Linked DNA regions of Homo sapiens: region 1 is linked to region 2. Evidence: promoter capture Hi-C in 16 types of primary human blood cells and fetal thymus (Javierre and others, 2016). All regions are on one chromosome and are shown on one strand. Each heading gives the region's core, a stretch centred on a gene start or on the middle of the fragment in contact. The rest is flanking DNA. Distances are from core to core; before and after follow the strand shown.

Evidence for each region. Contacts are between HindIII fragments. The CHiCAGO score rates a contact against its expected background, and 5 or more counts as called.
Region 1: a contact is called between a fragment that was not itself captured here and the fragment with the promoter of TMSB4X in region 2, in 1 of 17 cell types (monocytes). The highest score is 5.5, in monocytes.

Annotation. Positions count from the first base shown.
Region 1 is chrX:14,012,461-14,019,478 of GRCh38, forward strand. The region is part of intron 4 of GEMIN8 (gem nuclear organelle associated protein 8); the gene reads right to left. Among named protein-coding and RNA genes, the nearest start is that of GEMIN8, 14 kb to the right of the region's middle. The HindIII fragment of the contact is 1,695 bases long and covers 3,835-5,529 here.
Region 2 is chrX:12,970,274-12,976,521 of GRCh38, forward strand. It overlaps TMSB4X (thymosin beta 4 X-linked), which reads left to right and starts at 4,837. Exons shown (of 3, transcript NM_021109.4): 1 at 4,837-4,895; 2 at 5,973-6,088. The coding sequence starts at 5,989. RefSeq lists enhancers at 3,274-3,343, 3,354-3,613, 3,634-3,753, 3,877-4,716, 5,556-6,248. The HindIII fragment of the contact is 8,223 bases long and covers 339-6,248 here.

The DNA of each region.
Region 1 (7,018 bases), core at 3,432-5,931, 1.0 Mb after region 2:
CTTGCCTCTCAAGAGATTTGGAGGTTTAATGGTTTCCTGCATAGTGAACAGTGGCCCTAAAACACTGAACTAAAGGGCAAGAAGCCTGTCACCTGCGACCTACCCTGTGGGGGTCATTTATGGTGGAAGGGCACTGTCACCTTTACTCACAGCTGTACCCCCAGACCTGAGAGGACACAATGCCTGACACAAAGCAGATGCTCAGGAAGTGACTGTCAAATGAATGCTCAAAGGCCATGCATGATTTTTTTGTAAACAGCTCTTTTCCTTCCAGATGCTGTTAAAGAACAATAATGACAACTCGGGGATTGAGAAACAGATGCTCAAATCTCACTAGGTGCTGGGCAGAACTCCCTTCCCTGTGGGTTCCTCAGAGCCTCCCAGGCAGAGGGGCTATGGGGGGGGGCACCAATGAGTTGGGGTCGGACCCTGTTCTCTTACATTCGAATTGCTTTGCCTCTACTTACTCACACAATTTTTTAAAAAGTCCTAAGGCTAGGCTACAAGTTGAAAACCAGTCAGTTTAAAACCAAATAACTGCAGACAGGCTGTGCACTGATGGTCACAGCCAGCATGTGAAAGTACTTTAGCGTGTACTGACTTAGGGGACCAAGTAAACCTCAGAATGGAGTATCAGAGTTTGAAGGCATCCACTCATTCTGTTTTCTATTTATTGCTTCCTTCCTTCCTTCCAACGAAAACGGATTCTCAATCACTGGCAGTTTTCCTTGCTGTCAAAACAAGGTGAGCGCTCAGCCAGCCAGATGGAAAATCATCTGACCAAAGCAGACCAGTACGGACATCACACTTCAGATGCCAATGAACAGTTGCCTTGTCATGGAGGGTTTGGTCATTTTTATTGGAAACAGCTGTAGGACTCAATGTTGCCATACACTTTTATAGGGTATTTTGGCAAGATAATTTGTTTTAATATGAATCAGAAATCTTTTTTGATTCTATTCCAGCTTCAAAATAGGATTGTAGTGGGTTGAATAGTGTCACTTCAAATCCATGTCCACCTGGAACCACAGAAGGTGACCTTATTTGGAAATAGGGCTTTGTAGATGTAATTAAAGGATCAAGATGAGATCATACTGGATTAGGGTGGACCCTAACTCCAATGACAAAGTCCTTGTATGAGACAGAAAAGGACACACAGACACAGGGGAAAGGCCACATGAAGATGGAGGCAGAGATGGAATGATGCTGCCACAAGCCAAGGAACACCAGGAAACACCAGAAGTTGGAAGAGGTGAGGCCCTACAGCCTTCAGAGGGCGTGTGGTCCTGTTGACCGCTTGATTTGAGAACTGTGAGAGAATAAATCTGTTTTTTTTTTTTTTTTAATCCACCCAGGTTGTGTAATTTGTTACAGCAGCCCTGGGAGGCTAATACAAGGGTTAATATGCATATAGGTTAAAACAAGAACAATAGGCATGTATTATTAAGGAAAAGCTTTACTGGATTCCATCTGGGTTCAGGATACATAATCCTGGTATTTTTCACATCAATCTATTTGTCTACATGATGTGACCAATGTCACATCACGTAATAGTCCATAAAGGAAAAAAAAAATCATGGAAAGTTACCAGGACTTCAGAGAATCTTATATAGCAGGAAAACTTTCATCCAAGATTATTCCACACATAGAGCCCAAAGGCAGAACATGTTAGAGGATAAAGCATGGAGGCAGCAAGTGGCAAAGAATGTTTTTTCCCCTCACTTTCCTAGGACTAGTACATCTTTCTGATTATATTTTCTGCTATTTTGCCAAAATGAATAATTGTAGCACAACCGAGGGAAAGCACAAACTTGATGTATGCCATGAATGCCTCATTTCTGGCTTGTCAGCAACCACCCAGAACACAGGTACATGCCAGCAGAACTGGAGCCATTTCAGACTGGTCTTCTCTCTTCGTCGCACATCCCTTGCCCCATGACAAATGTAATCCTGAAGTTACTGGACAACCGCCATTTTTACTTTTACAACAGAAGTGCATTTTCATGTTCCTTTCCACTTTTCTACAGCCATTAACACGTATCATCTCACTGATCGGTTTTGTGCACCTGTGAATATCTGCACCAGATGAAACACACACGCATGTCAGGATTGTGCTCAATCACTGCAATTTCATCCTTCAACCTCATTGACTAAAGCAAGACAGCTCACTAAATACTGGGCCATAAACTTCACCGGGTTCTCTCTAGGTTTGACTGACTAAAGGCTCACTATGAAAACTACAGTCTCAGCCTTCCCACTCAGATGGACACAGTGTAATGGAGCAGATGTCTCCCCTCAAACGTATGAAAACCACATCTGGGCATATGAAAACCACATCTGGGCTCTCTGGTAAGAACAGCACTTTGAGTGTCTAAGCCGGGAGTGAACTAAGTCCTTTTTTCTCTCATTCCAAATTGACCCTATCCCTCAAATTGGCCTAGTGCATACCTTACTTCTTGACAGCTGCCCCGCGGTGCTCCTCCTTTGACTGCCTGGGTCACTGGCTCTACCCCTCATGTGCATGTATAACCATGAACCACACCATAGACACTCTTCTTCTATGTGTCACTTTACATTTCATTTTGTCTCCTCTTCCCAATGGGGTTTAAGCTTTTAGAATATGTCCCTGTTTTGAGCCAACACCCTCAAAACATAGGTCATAAATACCTGATTGGCTCAAACCCGAGAAAACAGTGGTGGTGTTTGTTTCAGAGGGCCTTACTCTCTTTTGAGGGTGACTTCCACTCATTTTCCCTCTAAGTATTAGCAATATAACCTTGCAGTCTCGACCAGTGGTCACTTATGACTACAAAATGGTATTTTTCTTAACCTAATAATAAACATTTTTCCTAAGAAATAATTGAAAACACAGCTGACCTTTAAAACTTCATAACTGTAAACTTTCTCATAAGTTATTTTCCATTGAAGCTTTAAGTAACGGAAATATCTTGTTAGGAAATGATGACAGACATAATCAAAAGCATGCATGTTCCCACTGTACAAAAGGAGTTCTTATCCTAGTCAAGCTTTTGGTGTTTTTTATCCTTGAAATATGTTAAAGTAGAGACTATCTGGAATCTGAGTAGCAATCACAAAAAAGAACATACTGTCCAATCTGAAGGCCTTTATCCTAAGAAAATATTAAACAAGACTCAGGCGATGATGAATTGCATAACTTGTATGTTCCTGTGGAAGTGAATAATACTGAAAAGTTAAATCTTTCAAATTTAGTGACATTTCCTCTTGCTAGTAACATTTTCTAAAATCCTGTGTTCTTCAAAGCATTCATGTTCAAAGCTGAAAATGTCCTTATTGAATAAGTAGCTTCTAGTGGTTTTGAGAGCAAAATGAAACAAAAAACTTGAACCAATTATTCATACTACCCAGGTCCCTTATCTCTTTATTAAAGCTTTTTCCAACAGTGTATGTAACTAACCCTCCATGAAAATTTCTGGTGAAGGTAATGAATTGGAAAGCGCCATGGGCACTCAGATTACTTACATATGAATTCCATCATTCATTACCGCTTGAAGAACAGTTGTTCATCCTGTACTCACCAAAAGTGCTGCTGAAAAAAATAATGCTAGTGATCTATTGCCCATTATTTTCTTACTGGTGCAAGATCGGGCCCTGGCAGCTGCTTCTAATATAGACGAAGTCTTTAGATTCCAGTCTGACACCACAGTCTGTTCTCACCCTCACCAGACAATTCTCACATCTCCCTGGGACCAGCTAATGCATTCAGGGAAGGCTGTAGGAGCATGACACAGACGCTAAGAAAAGTAGTTTTGAATCATGCTGTAACTACACATTTTAAAAATACAAAGAATTGAAAGCTTGTTTAGGGACATTATTAGTAATATTGAAGTGGGTTAATTTTCCCAGTCCATGTACTTTACTGCATTAAATTTTATCAAGCAAGAATATCCTTGAAACAGAACTAAAAACTGTGTTAATTGCTAAATTTGATAGACACCAAAACTTTCATTCTTTCATGTCTTTAATATTCTAAATCAGTTTAAAAGTTTGAAAGGTGCCACCCAGAGCAGAAATATGACCTTTCTGAAGTCACAGAACATCTTATTAAAAATATGCAGAATCTTAGCTGGGCGCGGTAGCTCATGCCTATAATCCAGCACTTTGGGAGGCCGAGGCAGGTGGATCACCTGAGGTCAGGAGTTCAAGACCACTCTGGACAACATGGTGAAACACCATCTCTACTACTAATAAAAAAATTAGCTGGGTGTGGTGGTTGGCGCCTGAAATCCCAGCTACTTGGGAGGCCGAGGCAGGAGAATCACTTGAACCCGGGAGGCATAGGTTGTAGTGAGCTGAGATGGCGCCACTGTACTCTAGCCTGGGTGACAGAGTAAGAATCTGTCTCAAAAAAAAAAAAAAAAAAAAAAATATATATATATATATATATATATATGTACAGAATCTCAATCAAGCACTAATCAAGGCAAACGGTATCAGAGAAAAACCAATTTATGGTTAATAATCCATGTTAAAGGATGGGTTACTAGCAACTAACTGTAACAATAACATTTATTGGGCACCAACTTGGTACCAAGCACCATTCTATAACTTTTCTCATATTATCTCATGGATTCTTCACAATTACTACCCATTAGGGATTCTTCATAATTACTACCCACTAATTAGGATCCTATTTCATAGGTGAGGCAACTGAGGCAAAGAATGGTGAAGGCAGGGGGCTTACAGGAGGACGAGAACCTCTAATCAGCGAGTGGTAGAGTGAGGCTGGACCTCTGTGATTCAAGCAGTTCTGCCACAGCTGCCTCCATACACTGTTGCCAGCAATAATATGAATACTGGAAAATGAGGTTCAAGATGGAAGTTGCAAGGGTTTTCATAAAATTCCCTTTTATGATGGTTTGCTATCTAGATCACAGTAAAACAAATAAGTAATACAGTTTTTTCAGACAGATGACAAGAACTGTGGGTTTACTTTATGTCCCAGTCACAGATTGCATTTGGGGACAAAGAAAATTCTCCCAGGGTGATTGTACTCCTTTCCTAGGGCTGCCATAACAAAGTACCATATACTGGGTGGTTTAAAACAACAGAAATGTATTGTCTCATGGCTCTGGAGGTCAGAAGTCTGCAATCGAGGTGTTGGCAGGGCCATAAACCCTCTAAAGGTGCTAGGGAAGGATCTGTTCCAGGCCTCTCCCACCTTCTGGATGTTCCTTGGATTGTGGCGACATAATGTCAATCTTCACATGGTGTTTTCACTGCATGTGTGTCTGTCTCTGTGTCCGGATTTTGCCCTTTTTATAAGGACCTGAGTCACATAGGATTAGGATCCCTGTAATGACCTCACTTAACCTCAATTACCTCTGGAAAGACCCTGTCTTTAAATAAGGTCACATTCTGAGGAACTGGGGGTTAGGATTCCACTGTATCTTTCTTGGGGAGATACAATTCAACCCAGATGATGAAAGTGCAATTTGGAGCCGTAAAGTAACTAGACAGATTTGGAAATAATATGAAACACAGAGATGAAGCTTATCAAGTTTATAATGCACACAAGGCCTAGCTCATTCTGTAAAATGTCCCACAGAATCACTGCAAGTGTAGCACTCTATGGGTAAGATTTGCCAACCTCTGATTTAAGGCTTCTAATTCACACTGAAAGACTTCATTTATTCACTCAAAATAATATTAAGTGGCAAGTATGACTTAGCAGGTAATTTTCATGATTTTGTTTACCTACCTAGAGTTCTACCTAACAATGGCAAGAGGGAGGAATAGGGATGGTTGTTAACAATATCTGTAACTGAACCGTTCACATTTTTTCTTTGGTGCAAGGACACATTTCATTGTTTTATCTTTATTTTATTCATATCCACTTTTTATTGACTAACTCAAGTTTATTTTAAACCAGCAGATAATTCAAAGTCACCTTTGAGATGACTGGGATTTGCTTCCATCCATAATTACAATTTCCATCATAAAAGTATCAACCTCTAGTGGGCAAAACATGTTATTCTACTTTCTGGTAAGGACAAGAGTAATAAACTCGATCTCCATCCCATTTTCTCTGTCAAAAGCTGTAACAAACAGCATTCCAACCCAAACATGGACATGCTCCAATGCTTCTCATTTGTTGTATATATTAGACTAATGGTTGTTTCGTATCTATATTTTTAAAAAGGGTAAAATTTATTTCTGGAGATCAAGCAAAAGTATTCTGTGTGTAATAGAAAGTACTGTCTTAAAAGTATTTGTTTGGATATACTTCTTTCTTTCTTTTCTTTTTCTTTTCTTTCTTTTCTTTTCTTTTTTTTTTTTTTTTTGAGCCAGGGTCTCGCTCTGTCACCCAGGCTGGAGTACAGTGGTGTGATCGTGGCTCACTGCAGCCTCAAACTCCTGGGCTCAAGCCATCCTCCCGAGTTGCTGGGACTACAGGTGTGAGCCACCACACCTGGCTGGATATACTTTCTAATATGCTTAAAGAAGTACACAGTTTAAACAAAAGAAAGGAAGTCAAAAAAATCTGAACAAGTAGTTTAGTGAAGAATCACGGACGAAGATACTAAAGGATATAATATTTTATACAAAGCCCAGTGCTCAGTTCTTGGCATCCAGTGGGGATCAATAAAAGCTAATTCATCATTAGGAAAATGCTGACAATGACAGACAGGAATGAAACTCCCATTCCCAGGTTTCTACGCTTCTGTGTCATTGGAAAATTGTAGGTAAAATGTCATACAATTAGGCCTCACTTAAAACAAAATTGAGAATGAATACTGGTTATAATAGGGAAAGAAGCATTTGTATCTCAGTTAGAGGTACTTAGAAATGGTCTGGTGAATTTTAATAGGAGAGCACAAAAGCTGTTCTAGTTCTTTCTAGTAAGGTGGTAAGAAATTTAAAAAGAAAATTCCTGTTTTTGACTGAAGATATAAGACCTTTATCATAATTCTCTGACCCCATGGACAGGGCCTCAATGCAGAACCAACAGGAAAGTTGTAAGTGCCAGGCATTTCGT
Region 2 (6,248 bases), core at 3,587-6,086:
GAGAGAACCTGTTTCTTAAAAAAAAAAAAGAAAAAAAGAGAAAAAACATCTACATGATGAAAAAGCTAGACAGCTGATTGAGACAGAATATAACTTTACCCTTATCTGGCGTATGGAACAAAGCCTTTAAAAGGCCTTAGGATTCTAGAGAAGAGTAGTGTTTAAATGAGGCGGCTTCTGAGCCAGCCAGTCTGAGTTCAAATCCTGCCTTTGGCTTTCGTTGTGTTTTCTTGGGGAAGTTATTTAATCCCTCTAGAATTCTCTCATCTGCAAAATGAGGAGAATAATGGTGCCACTGTCATAGGATTGTGTGAGGATTCGGGAAATACTACATGGAAAGCTTCCCAGTATATGGAAAGCACTCAGAAAGCACTTGCTGTTATTACTGCTATGGGTACAGCCATGATTGTTACTATCATTATTCTACAACCTGGCCCCTGCCTGGTTCCCAGCGTTATTTCCTGTCACTTTCTCTCATTTTACGCAAGTGCCTGCCAAGCTAAGCTACTCATTGCCCCCTGCGTTAACTCGAAGATTCTCTGCTTCCGTATTGTTCCCTGGCTGTGTGGAGGCTGAGTAACCACTTGGAGGGGATGTTGTAGAGGAAAATTCAAGCCACAGAAGGGAAACTGGGTTGAATGAGATCCCCTTTTACATTTCTTTTGGCTCTAAAGTTTCCATCGGATCAATAAAGCAAACAGGACAATTAGCAGCACGGCACTCAGCACTGAGCACAGGCGAGGGTGTTCTTTCACTCCTCTTTGCTTTCCTGCCACCCCCTGCTCGCCTTCCTCTTTGCACCATGTGGGTCCGCTCTGGGTGGGAGTCCTGGAGAAAGATACTTCAACTAAAGATAAGGCAGAGATAGGCCTCGGTGGAAAGACTTGGTAGACAGACCTGGGCATTTGATTAAGAGCAAATTGCTTAAATTCTCGGAGCCTCAATTTCTTTAGTAGTAAAATGGGGATATTAGTACTCACTCCATAGGGTAAGAATGGAATCAGATATTGTTTAAAAGGGCTTATAGCTGAGGTTACAAGATATAGCTAGTCTACTAAATATCCTTTCTCTTTTCATTTTCCTGTTATTCACAGGGGGGACTTAGGCTGTGTCTTTAAGGGGTTTTAGATTCCAATCAGTGGAAGGAGGGCTCTGCTGTGAGGGAGACCAGATGGAGACTGCAGGGGCCACAGGGGAACGTGGGGTGCAGGCAGGTGGGGCAGATGGTAGGAGGCCCTGAAACTCAGACAAAGGGATCTGGGCTTGAGAAAGCAAGAGCTGGGAGCTCAGCTTTGTTCCTGTTCTTCCGTTCCTCCCTCCTCTTCCTTCTTCTCTTCTTCTGGTAAGTTTTTGGCACAAAATTAAATAGGTTCAAACTAATAGAACTCATTTTCATGAATTCAGACTTCTAGCCAACTTCTCCATGGTTAGAAATAGCCACGACTCTATCCCAGGCCCGCCCTGGAAAGCAAAATAAAACTGCGTCCCCTGCCACCTTTTCCGGGTTCCACCAGACACAGGGTTGGAGGGGAACCGCCCTTCAACGCAGGCAATGTTGGCACATTTTTCATTGGGCGCTGTGGCCCGTGAGATGAGGAAGGCAGGACAGGCGCAAAGTGGACTCTACTTATCTTTCACCAGAGAGCCCCAAGGCCAGAGTGCACCATACAACCCGGAGTCACCCAAGGCCTTTTTTTTTGGGGGGGGGTCTCACTGGGAACAATGTCTGCACCCATTGTAAGCAGTTCCTTTGCCCCTGTGTGCCTCTGTCTTTTTAATTGGGATCGAAAACTGCTACCTCAATGGTAGTTGTGCCCGGCACATACTAACAGACTTATAAATGTAGCTGCCTGGGGCAGGGATGATCCTGGAACATTCTGACATCTAGAACATTAAGACTAAATGGATTTAATTATCTGGGGAGAAGAAAGCAAGACAATTAGAGTCACAGGTTCAACACCTGAGTTCAAGTACCTCCCTCATTTAAGAAAATCAATTCATGGAAGGCTGAGGCAGAGAATGGCTTGAATCCGGGAGGTGGAGGTTGCAGTGAGCCGAGATCACATCACTGCACTCCAGCCTGGGTGACAGAGCGAGACTGTCTCAAAAAAAGAAAAGAAAAGAAAATCAATTCAATGCAGTGGGAGAACTGTTATTGAGCAATTACTATCCACCAGACGCTGTGGAAAGCACAACTGCCTAGCTCCTCACACTCTTCCTGGTGATTCTCGGGTACAGACTAAGAGGATGTGGGGAGGACTTTTACATGCTCTTGGCATATATAACAGAGTGGCTACCAGCTGAGGTAACCCAATGATGGCTCTCTAAGCCTCAGTTTCCCCATCTGGAAATTTCTTATGGAAAGGCGGTGGGAAAGAAAGGAAAAAACAAATGTAAAACTTACGTTACAATGCCTGACTCTTAGAAAATATCAACCGACAGGAGTTGTCATGTTTTATTTGCTGTAAAACTACCAAAAGATCTTCTATCAACATTTTGTAAGTGAAAATAATAATATATATTCATATGTATTAATTATATAGAAATAATATATAATAATATATAAATGTCTCTATAGGAGAAATAATATCAAGACACCTAAAATTTTTAATTAATTCTAAACACTAAGACAATTATTTTATTATTTTTCCTCAACCTTCCATCCTAAATCATACGAATAATAACAATAGAAAGAGCTTACTAATTGTCATGCACTGTCCGAAGCATTTACTCCTCCCAACAACCCTGTGAGGTCGGTGTTGCAATGAACCCATTTTACAGATGAGAAAACTCCAGCACAGAAAGATTCATTCACATGGCCAGAGTCATGCAACTTTTAAGAATATTCCTTTGGTTTGCATTTCCTTGTATCTGCACCACCCTTCCCTTTCCTGTCTCTCTAGGTCTCCTGACCGGTTGGCAGGTCAGTCCCAATCATGGGAACTCTTTTCCTTTAAGCAGTCGTCTCTCTTTCTCTTCCTCTCTGTTTCCACCTGCCCTCCATCAGTGTCTCAGCACAGTGGAAGGCTGCTTGCTACCGCACTGGAAAACTTCTCCAGACATTTCCAAGTTTGCATTCGTCCATCTCCTTTGGAGAATTGCTTCAGTGAGGCCTAACCCTTTCTGAGGAAAGGCCCTTGGGAGAAGAAGCCAGGAGAAGGTAGTGGCACTCCTTTGTCATCAGGAGACATTGGGAGGAAAGAAATGATTTTCGACAGCAGCTGGGTGAGGGGAAACAGAATCACAGAACCTGCGGAAACGGTGTCGGTACAACGGCAGCTGCCAGCTAAACGGGCGAAAAGGCACCCTGCAAGATCTTTTCTGTGTTTCAACGATGAAGTAGACTCCCAACATGGAACAGGGGCGGGGGGGCTGTTACCAGACAGGTGACATTTGGTGCATGCACGAACAGGTCCAGTGCCCCATTCGGAGGCCAGGAAGGCAGCCACCCAGCAGAGCATTAACTAGGGGACCAGACGGTCACCTGCCCCTGCTCACCCCCACCTCCTTCCTCCCCAGGAAAAAGGAAGTCAAGTAGATGGAGAAACGGGGAAGTCCAAGCTGCTGGCAGTGGCATTCAAGGGTCTATATATAAGGTTGACTCTAATCCCCAGCGAGACAAAAGCCTGTGCCATAAAAATGATTAGCAAGGGGTTTCTAAAAACATTTCCCCAGGCCACGGAAAAGGAGAAGGAATATTTTGCACACTGCCTTGTCTCTTAGAAATAATCACAGCTAGGCCTCTTTATAACCGGCGAGTCTTTTTCCTTTCACACGCCATTTGCAGGCGCGTGGCATGGTATTTGTAACTAATTTTCAGTAGCAAGTGGGTCACTGGTATTCACAGAGTCAGGTGCCATTTTGAAAACTGCTTCCCTCTACCCGAATCTCTTATATTTCCAGATGCAGATGCACTTCAGCGATGTCCTAGTGCTGGAAACGCTCCCTTGAAAATATAATTTGATTTTTGAATTTCATCTTAAGACATTAGAGATAATGTAACTGTAGTCTTTGGAATTCAACGCTGGCCTCCTTAGCCATCACTTTTAAAATTTATGAAAATAAGGAAGAGGAAGGTAAAGAACTTCCTCATTGTCCGGCAGTAAAGTCAATGGCAGAGCTTGAGCTTGACTTATTTTGCTAAGAGGGAGGTGTTTTACCCTATAAACTCCAAATTACCTTACACCCAGCAAATACTACTGTTGAGTGCTCACAAAAATTATGCTGATGAAACAATATGGATGTTTCAGTGATGAAACTTTCTCTTTTAAAATCACTTAAGGGTGCTTTACGTCCCACCCAAGGCAAGAGGAACGCCAGCGAGGAAGACAAAGAGGCCCGGGGTGGGGCGCATGCCCGCCACTGGACTGAAAGCTGAGTCACAGGAATCGTACCCCTGCAGCGGGCCAGGCCCTCCAGGGAGGGACACCGCGCCCTTGTGTGGAGATGTCCACAGTAGACAAAGGCAGTTTCGAAATAAAAGAATGCCTGTCACCCCAGGTGCCACCCCGACCCTTAGTTATTATGCACTGGTCCCCAAGAGCAATTTCTGCGCTGCTGTTGCAAAAATTCATCGTAATGAAATAAACGTAAAAGGGGAAAATGTGTTATGAAGTGTTGGAGGGTGCTTTGCTCATTTTTTTCGCCATCGTTGTGGTTAGGGTGCATGCACTAGTGGACCCCGGGTGGGGGTGGGGCTCCCCTCCCCAAAAGCCCGGCAGGCCTCCGGATGCCGTTCCGAGACGCGGCGCGAAGGAGTTAAGCGGGCCGGCGGGTGACATCACCTCATTTACATAGGAGCGCCCATAAAGCTGCGCCCGCCGCACCCCGCCCGACAACTCGGTGGTGGCCACTGCGCAGACCAGACTTCGCTCGTACTCGTGCGCCTCGCTTCGGTGAGCCCCAGGGCCCCTGCCTCCTTCCTCCTGCCGTCCTGCCTCCGTCCCCGCCCTTTCATCATCCGCGTCCCTGTGAAGGCATTCCCTAAATCCGAGCCCGAGTGGTTCTCCCCGGGAAGGCTACTTTGGGGAGCTGGGGGGATGCGAAACACCCTAGATACTGGATAATGGGGTGGGGAAATCGATGATTTAAGAACAAAACCGAAAAACTGGCGTTTTGCCGTGCCGCTCGGAGGGGACATTAAAAAATTTCTTAGTGTTTGCCCGCAAAGGTATTGTGCGTTGCCTTGGAGGCTGAGATATGGGGGAATAGACAAGTCCTTTGTTCTGAGGTTCATCTTCCGAGCCCCGAGCCTCCTCCCAGCCTCGGACGGCTGCGCGGGCTGCATCTGTGCAGCCTGGCGGCGGCGGGGCTGTGCTATGACATCTTTACAGTCCTTCTTGCAGAGACATGTGTGCCAGGGATGCCGAATTGCCGGGAGAGCAGGCAAGACCGGCTTCGGGGCGCGCGGCGGCCGCTTTGTGTGCGGGGCTGCATTGTGACGCGGGCGATGAAGCCGGTAGGGCGGTGGTCGGAAGCTCCAGCCGCGGCCGCCGCCTTTGTGAGAGGACTAGAAAGCCGGATCCGGCCCGCATCCTTGCGGAGAGGCCGCGGCTAGGAAATGGAAACGCTTTTCCTACCTGGGCTCCATTTTAGGAATTCTTGCCGATTTTTCCCACTTGAATTTGGAAGTGGCTTTCCTCTTCTTTCCTTGTCCTAGCCAGCCTTTAATTTTAAACGCTGTAATTAACAATTCGCAGTGGTCAATTTCCTTTATTCTGCAAGATTCGGCTTTGAGAGGCATCCGCCCTCTTTGGTCCACAGCGTTTTGAAATATGGGGAGGAGGGGCGCGGGGGGTGTCGCCTCTTTTTCTGTAGAAAGAGGAAGCTCGTGAGCGCGGAACGGCAGCAGTAGGAGAGCGAGAAGGGTTTTTTTCAGGCTGCGGGTCGGAGGGCAGAAGTGCAGTTCCCAGCCCAGAGACAGCGGGGCGGGTGGCTCTTCCTCACGCTCGCTCTTGGCTTGCTCCCTGCAGCTTTTCCTCCGCAACCATGTCTGACAAACCCGATATGGCTGAGATCGAGAAATTCGATAAGTCGAAACTGAAGAAGACAGAGACGCAAGAGAAAAATCCACTGCCTTCCAAAGAAAGTGAGCTCCGACCCACCCCCATCTTTAGAAAGGCTGGGTGGGAGCGGCCGGTGGGAGGGCGGGAGGCTGGGAGCGGCCGCGGGAAGAATTCGGGAGGGGGGAGTGCGGGGGAAGAGCCGACAGTTGATGAATGTGGCTTGCAAAGGTTAATTAAAAATGG